Regions from separate parts of the Homo sapiens genome. Here region 2 is linked to region 1. Evidence: promoter capture Hi-C in human tissues and cell types (Jung and others, 2019). All regions are on one chromosome and are shown on one strand. Each heading gives the region's core, a stretch centred on a gene start or on the middle of the fragment in contact. The rest is flanking DNA. Distances are from core to core; before and after follow the strand shown. Region 1 holds the start of TMEM177 (transmembrane protein 177). Region 2 has its middle 130 kb from the start of THORLNC.

Region 1 (3,888 bases), core at 619-3,118:
TCCATGTCATCATCCCATCTGATGAAATAAGCAATAATTCATTAATATCATCTAATATTCAAATCCAAATTCAAATTTCTCCAAGATGCCTTTTGTTTGTTTGTTTGTTCCTTTGTTTGTTTGAGACAGAGTCTCACTTAGCCACCCAGGCTGGAGTGCAGTGGCACAATCTCGGCTTACTGCAACCACCATCTCCCAGGTTTTAGCGATTCTCCCGTCTCAGCCTCCTGAATAGCTAGGATTATAGGCGTGTGCCACCATGCCTGGCTAATTTTTGTATTTTAGTAGAGACGGAGTTTCACCATGTTGGCCAGGCTGGTCTTGAACTCCTGACCTCAGGTGATCTGCCCTCCTTGGCCTCCCAAAGTGCCAGGATTACAGGCGTAAGCCACCGCGCCCAGCCCAAGGTGTCTTTTTTACAGTTAGTTTATTTGGTTCAGGATCCCAATAAAAGTCACATATTGCATTTAACTGCAATGACTCTCAAGTCTCTTTTCTTTTGAGTCCCCCTCCTTCCCTGTTTATGCCATTGATTTGTTGGATAAACCACGTCATTTGCCCTGTAGAATGTCCCACATTCTGGCTTTGGCTGAGGTCACATTGCACTATTTACATACAAACAACTGAGCAGCCAAAATTGGGGGGGGGGGCTCAGAAACAGAACAGACTTTAATAATAATAGCTAATGGCTAGGCGGCACAAACCGTGAGGCACAGGTTACATATACACCAACTCATTTTATCACACAGCTAGTAAGGGGTGGAGCCCGGCTTTAACCCTAGGCAGTCTGTTTTCACCCTCTGTAAAGGATTGGGCATGGCTGTGTTCCAAGAAAACTTTATTTACAAAAGCAGGTGGAGAGCTGGATTTGGTGCACAGATTAGATGATCCCTCATCTACCTCACAGAGCAGCTGGAAAGGAGAAATGACAGATGGCACGCTGCTCTGTGGACTGTACAGTGTGAAGCACCTGGGAGGAGCTTGGGGGGCAGCGAACATGGTAATAAACATAAAGCTCAGAGCTCCCCGCCAAGGGTGAGCGCTTCCAGACGGAGAAGTACACGGGCCGGCCAGTCAGATGGGCATGGGTTCTGATGGGGGCCCTGCCATAGGCCGCCTGGTGACCCACGCGGGGCTGCCGTTCCTTCGGGGGTTCAACGGCATGATCAAAGACACCGGGATGTGTGTGTGTGTGTGTGTGTGTGTGTGTGATGATCAAAGACACCGGGGTGGGTGTGTGTGTGTGTGTGTGTCATGATCAAAGACACCAGGGTATGTGTGTGTGTGTGTGTGTGTGTGGCATGATCAAAGACACCGGGGTGTGTGTGTGTGTGTGTGTGGCATGATCAAAGACACCGGGGTGTGTGTGTGTGTGTGTGTGTGTGACGGAGTCTCGCTCTGTCGCCCAGGTTGGAGTGCAGTGGCGTATTCTCGGCTCACTGCAACCTCTGCCTCCCAGGTTCAAGCGATTCTCCTGCCTCAGCCTCCCCAGCAGCTGGGGACTACAGGCGTGCGCCACCACGCCCAGCTAATTTTTGTATTAATCAAAGACGCATTTCAACGCAGAGGAGGAAGTGCTAGCGGACCCACCCCAAGGTGCACAGTTAGAGAAGGAGCCTCTGCGGCGGCCGGAGCCCCCCACGGACATCCCCTTGAGGCCCCCCCAGCCACACCCCCAAGAGTCCCGCCCCCAGACCCGTCGAGCGAGCTCCCCTCCCTGAAATCCTCGCCCCGAGATCTCCGGCCGGCGAGCTCCGCCCCCTGAAGTCCCCATCCCAAGATCCGGGGCCGGCGAGCTCCGCCTCCCGAAGTCCCCGCCCCCAGATCCCCGGCCGGCGTGCTTTGCGGCCGCCCTGCCGCGCGCACATGTAGGCGTTCCGAGCGGCGGCGGAGGTGAGCGCACGGACGAGCGGGAGGGACCCTTCTCCGGCCTGATGCGACCCGGTAACGCGTTCAGACTGCGGAGTAGCCTAGGGGCCCAGAGTGGAAGCGTAGCGAGGACCCCTCTGCGGGGCTCCTGCAGCCCCTCCTCCCCCAGCCACCGGCGGGCTGCATGGTACTGTGTTCTAGGCCCACCCCGCAGCGCGATGGCCCTAGGGACGTTGGACTTTGGTCCAGACCTTTCCTTTCTTAGCCTCACTTTCCGCATTGGGAAAAAAAAAAAGCCCGAATGATAATGATTCTTATAGGAGTTCTTGATTAAGATAGGCCAAGCGGTACCCTGCGTTTTTGTTTGCGGCAACTCATTCGTTGCTCATTAAGCACTTTTCACGGACAGGAATACAGTAAGTTTCAATCAAAGTGAAATAATTGTGAATTTTTACTGACGTATTCACGGATGAAGTGATAGGATGCCCGGGGATGTTTCAAAATAAACCAGTTGGACGGAAGTGTGGTGGAAAGAGAAATCAAACAAGATTGGCCATGAGTTGATGGGATTGAAGTTGATGGATGTACTATTTTGTCTACTTTGGTATATGCTTGTAATTTGGCATAACAAGTTTTCTAAAACAAAAAGTTTGCTGTGGACACCTGACTATGCCTGTGTTAGCTTGCTAGAGCTGCCATGCCGAAGTACCGGAGACTGGGTGGCCCAACCAGCAGAAATTTGTCCTCTGGGAGTTATGGAGGCTGGAAGTTCAAGACCAGGGTGTTAACAGGGTTGGTGTCTTCTGAGACCTCCCTTCTTGGCTTGTAGGTGGTAGCCTTTTCCCTGGATCCTCACATGATCTTCCTGCTGTGCCTGTTTGCATCCTAATCTCTTCTTATAAGTACACCAGTCAAATTGGATTAGGATCCATACTGATGGCCTCATTTTATCTTAATTATCTCCTTAAAGACCCTGTCTCCAAATACAGCCACAGTCTGAGGTACTGGGGGTTAGGACTTAAATATATGAACTGGGGAGGAGGAGGAGACACAGTGCAGCCCATAACACTGTCACTTCACTAGCTTAGGATTTTGGCCATTTAAGTTTTCACAGCTTTGAAATAGGGTTAGCTGTAGTAATTAGGTCATGGGGTTGTGAGGGTTCAATCGGTAAGAGTGCTCAGAACTGAGTCTAGCATATAGTAAGCACTCAATAAATTGAACACGTTTTTCCTTATAAATTAGTAATCATAGGGCTTTACCATGGGATGAGTGGAATGAGGCAGTTGGAGTGCCGTGCCCAGCGATGGGAATAAAAGTCATTACAGCCATTATTATAAGGAATATCTGCTGCTGTGCCAGACACTAAATGTTTTATGTATGTTTATTCATGTGCTCATCACCGCCACCCTAGAGGTGGGCCATTACGACACACCTGTTTGGCACATGGGGAAATTGACGCACAGAGACGGAGCTGGGATTTGAACACAGGCACTCTGGCTCTAGAGCCCACACTCTTCACCACTATGCTGTGTTACTTTGGTTTAAAAAGGTGGTGTGGACCCTGGAGGATGTTCAGTCTGCAGGCTGACCCAGGGAAACTGGCTGACTTCTCTTTTTCTTGGCCCAGATTGTCCGCAGTGACTACACTCATGGCAGGTCCCCTGTGGCGGACCGCAGCATTTGTGCAGAGACACAGGACAGGCCTCTTGGTGGGTTCCTGTGCAGGCCTGTTTGGAGTTCCAATCTCGTACCACCTCTTCCCGGATCCCGTGGTCCAATGGCTCTACCAGTACTGGCCTCAGGGCCAGCCAGCTCCGCTCCCTCCACAGCTGCAGAGCCTCTTCCAAGAGGTGCTACAGGACATAGGTGTTCCTTCAGGCCATTGCTACAAGCCCTTCACCACCTTCACCTTCCAACCTGTGAGTGCAGGCTTCCCAAGACTCCCTGCTGGGGCTGTGGTGGGCATCCCTGCCAGTTTCTTGGGAGACCTAGTGATCAACACTAACCATCCCGTGG
Region 2 (3,888 bases), core at 636-3,135, 1.4 Mb before region 1:
GTACCTGGTATAGTGCTGAAGTGGAAGAAGTGCTTAATGCTATTGTTGAATGGCTGATTGAGAGATTGCATGGATACTGAGTTCGGCCATCCTGAGCTAAACCAATTTCCTCTTCTAACCTGGAATGCTTAGGTCACATGCCTGGAACATACAGTCTGTCAAGCTACAAACTCTTAGTTCTGTGCTTTTTCTAAGACATCAGTTCTACAATGCACACAGATTTTGTTTTGTTTTGGTCTGTTTTTGGGACTGAGTCTTACTTTGTTGCCCAGGCTGGAGTGCAGTGGCAGTGGAGTTGCACTGCAACCTCCACCTCCTGGGTTCAAGCAATGCTCGTGCCTCAGCCTCCCTGGTAGCTGCAATTTCAGGCATGCGCCATCACTACCATACCCTGCTAATTTTCATATTTTTAGTAGAGATGGGGTTTTGTCATGCTGGCTTGGCTGGTCTTGAACTCCTGGCCTCAAGTCATCTGTCAGCTTCAACCTCCCAAAGTGCTGGGATTACATGTGTGAGCTGCTGCACCCGGCTCACACAGAGGTATTTTAGAGACTAGAAGCTGCAGGAGAAAGAGGTTGACACTGTGCTGAGAGACAGATTTTGCTGGAGCAGCTAGCCAATTCAGATGCTTATCAACCTACTGACCGGGAGAAATAATAATGTTTCGTCAAGTTGACTTACCAATTTTGTCGCTTTAAGCTCATGTTTGGCTGTGATCTGACAGGTGCTGTTGGTAATAATACCAAGTTGTGGGCATGCAAGAAATGTTTTGTATTGGGCTGTGTCCCTGTGCCCTCAACACAAATAGAATGTTCAGAAGTTGAATGAATGTGTGGGTGTAGCATCCTATATCCAAGGGGGGGATGTTCTAAATGTAATAAGACATTTTTGTGACCCCAAATACCTTTTGAGTATTAATATTTTGAAAAGAAGATAAGTTAAAGATGAATAATAAAGACAGGTACGATATTTTGTCTTACTCTCAAAGTTAAAAGCAGTAAAAATAAATTAATTGACATGTGTCCAAAGCAATCACCTATTTGACATGGGAACCCTTCTGTGTTGTCCTAGAACTTCCACGGATGGCAGACACATTTCACTCTTTGCAAGGCCTTTTCTTATTAAGGATGACCAGTGTTTCCCTGAGGTGACCAGCCTGTTCAACGGGCTACAGAAGAACTGGGGCACAGAGAATGCACTTCCCTTACATGTGCACTGAGCAAGAAAAGAACATTTGGCAAATTTCTGTGACAGCTGGAGTGACGGTGACCATTTGTGGGCTTTAAGTAGTGACAGGACACATTAAATTAATTTTGATATTTTATAAGTTAAAACCTTTTATTTTGTCTTTATGATAAATGTTCTCTCCCTAGCTTTACCCTCTAGGGCAGAGATTGGCAAACCTTTTGTAAAGGAACAGATCGTAAATATTTTAGGCTTTGTGGGCCAGGAGATTTTTCTTGCAACTCTGCCATAGCAGTTTATAAGTAGCCATAGACATTATGTAGATAGATGAATGTGGCTGTGCTCCAATAAAACTTTATTTACAAAAACAGGAAGAGGGCTAGATTTGGCCTGTGGGCTATGGTTTTCCAGTGCTTGCTTCAGGAGACTGGAGTCAGTACTTTTTTTCTCCTGTGAAAGATGAAAACTTTAGTCACTAATTTCCAAAGACTGCTTCTTGCTTGCAAATATGTAATTAATATAAGCAGCAAAGTATAGTAGAATTTCCATGATTTTACATCTACTAAAACAAAAAAGATTAAGTTCATTGTGCCTTTAAAATGAAGGAACAGTATCTAATCTGAAAAACTGTTAAAAAGTTAAAATGATGTATAATTTCCAAATTCTGCTTCTATGCGGCAGCCCTCCTGCATGTGAAATTGTCGAGTAGAATAGCTATTATTTCCCACTGATGAACCACAAATGGGCTGAAGATATTTGCATACCTTTTTACACACAATATATACCAGCACTCTAACCTCTGATTCTTCTTACCAGATTCCATTTAATTTGTCATTAATTAGTAAATTGTTATGTGAAATGCTGCAAAGCTTCTTGGGTAAAATGGCCAGTGTGATGATTATTCTTTTGGAAGCTATCTGAAATTGTTACTACTGAGCAATTTCCATGAAAATAGAAGGGTCTTTGGAGCTGTTCTTTTAAAATAAGAATAAAATGAACCAAATGGGGAGAACACATAAAGGCAATAATAAATCAAGGACAAAAGACAAGAAACTAGTCCCCAAAACAGTATCTAGGAAGAAACTATAGTAGCTTCTTTTTGCAAAGAGTAGGTACTTCTTCAACTTTCTTTTCAAGCTGCAATAAAAACAAAACAAAGTTAAAGCGAGTCCTAAAGTAAACTTTCAGAAGTCCAGTTAGTATCTGCTTTAAGAATCTTCAGGTCTCTGAAAACCTTTATCTAAGAGGGTGGGGAGGGGGGAATCTTTGCCAACTATAGGTCAGTTCTTTCCTTCTTTAAGTTACACCCAGTGTATGTATTTGCATTTATTTTGTCAATTGCAGAATCATTGCTTTGAGTGATTGTCATTGTCTACATCTTTCTCTCTTTTTTCCTTCTTGCTTGCTTTCTTGCTTTCTTTTTCAATTTCCTTCTTCTTTCCCCTTCTTTTCTTTCATTTAAAGCCAGGCAGAATGCACCTTCCTGATAGATGGGATTTTGCCTTCAAGTTGTTTCCAGTGTTTAATTCCTCCTTACTGTTACCTCCGGAACCAAGTCCAAATGAAAGGCGAGCCTCTTTGACCCTCTGCCCTCCCTTTCCTGCCTTCTCTTCTCCTGGGTTTCAATGGTTGATTGAACGGTGTGTTAGGTTCACTGAACTTGGTCTTGGCTTCGGTTCCAAGCAGGGACAAAGTCAGCTTCCAGGCCAATTTCCATATGAAAGCAGCTGAGATCTCTTTCCCCATTTTGGAATTCCAGGCAGCACCCTGGGCTCTGACTTCTCAGATTCAAAGTTCTTGCTCAAATTCCCCCCACCCCCACATTCCAACCCAACCCTAATCTCCTCCCACTTTGGTTTCTCTGCCCACCAGGTTTCCAGGTCTCCCAGCACACTACAGTGGCCCTGAGAGGGCAGCTGTGAACTCAACTCAAGAAAAACTCCTTCACGTTTCTCTGAGGCTGATGGCGTAAGAGAGGGATTTGTTTATTAGGGTTTGAGATGGGCAGGGAGAAGTGGGAGGTCCCACGTAGGACAGAGAGAAGGTGGAAGAGTCAATGCTTGTTAGGGATGAATTTAAGAAAATTATACTTCCTGTTGCCAACTATTTAGGAACAAATACAGCCCCATTAAAGAATTTATCCAGCTGTTTGTAAATTTTGGTTTGAGGTCTTAGGTAAACTGCCTCCAAAATTTCTGCTTTACTTCCAAGATGTGGTTTTGCCAAACTAGAAAATGACAACAAAAAAGATGTTGCCTCTTTCCATTGCATTTCTTATGTAAGCAAATGGCCTGTTTGGACCCTTAAAAATGCCATTAGCAAAAATAGTATCCCCAAGCTGGAAGGAACTCAGGAAGGCTGTCTCTATTTGAAAGCCACAGAGATGTGTGTGGGTTGACAAACCATAACATCACTCTCAAATCCTCATCCACCTTAAACCAGAAGTTTAAGAAGTTGCTGGTGGCCAAATCAGACTCTATTTATTTACTGGCTTGTGTTAATATCGGTGCCTTGATTTTTCCGCTCGAAAGTCTTTCCAATCTTAATACCTGGTCACATTTCAGTTCTGTTCTGAACAATGCTTTGCTTCTTTCTTTTGTTGGGGAGTAAGGCACAGTGATTTATAGACTGTGCCTTACAATTGGTGAGACAATTGCTGTTATTGTTTTCGTTGTGTCTCCTAAAAAATGTCACTTTTATAGC

What was found. Contacts are between HindIII fragments. The study calls those that stand out against the background at their distance.
Region 2: a contact is called between a fragment that was not itself captured here and the fragment with the promoter of TMEM177 in region 1, in 1 of the 25 tissues and cell types used here (lymphoblastoid cells).

Annotation. Positions count from the first base shown.
Region 1 is chr2:119,677,333-119,681,220 of GRCh38, forward strand. TMEM177 (transmembrane protein 177) reads left to right here and starts at 1,869. Exons shown (of 2, transcript NM_030577.3): 1 at 1,869-1,944; 2 at 3,500-3,888. The coding sequence starts at 3,522. RefSeq lists a silencer at 1,716-1,945. The HindIII fragment of the contact is 8,254 bases long and covers 1-3,888 here.
Region 2 is chr2:118,316,533-118,320,420 of GRCh38, forward strand. No RefSeq gene overlaps it. Among named protein-coding and RNA genes, the nearest start is that of THORLNC, 130 kb to the left of the region's middle. The HindIII fragment of the contact is 7,555 bases long and covers 1-3,888 here.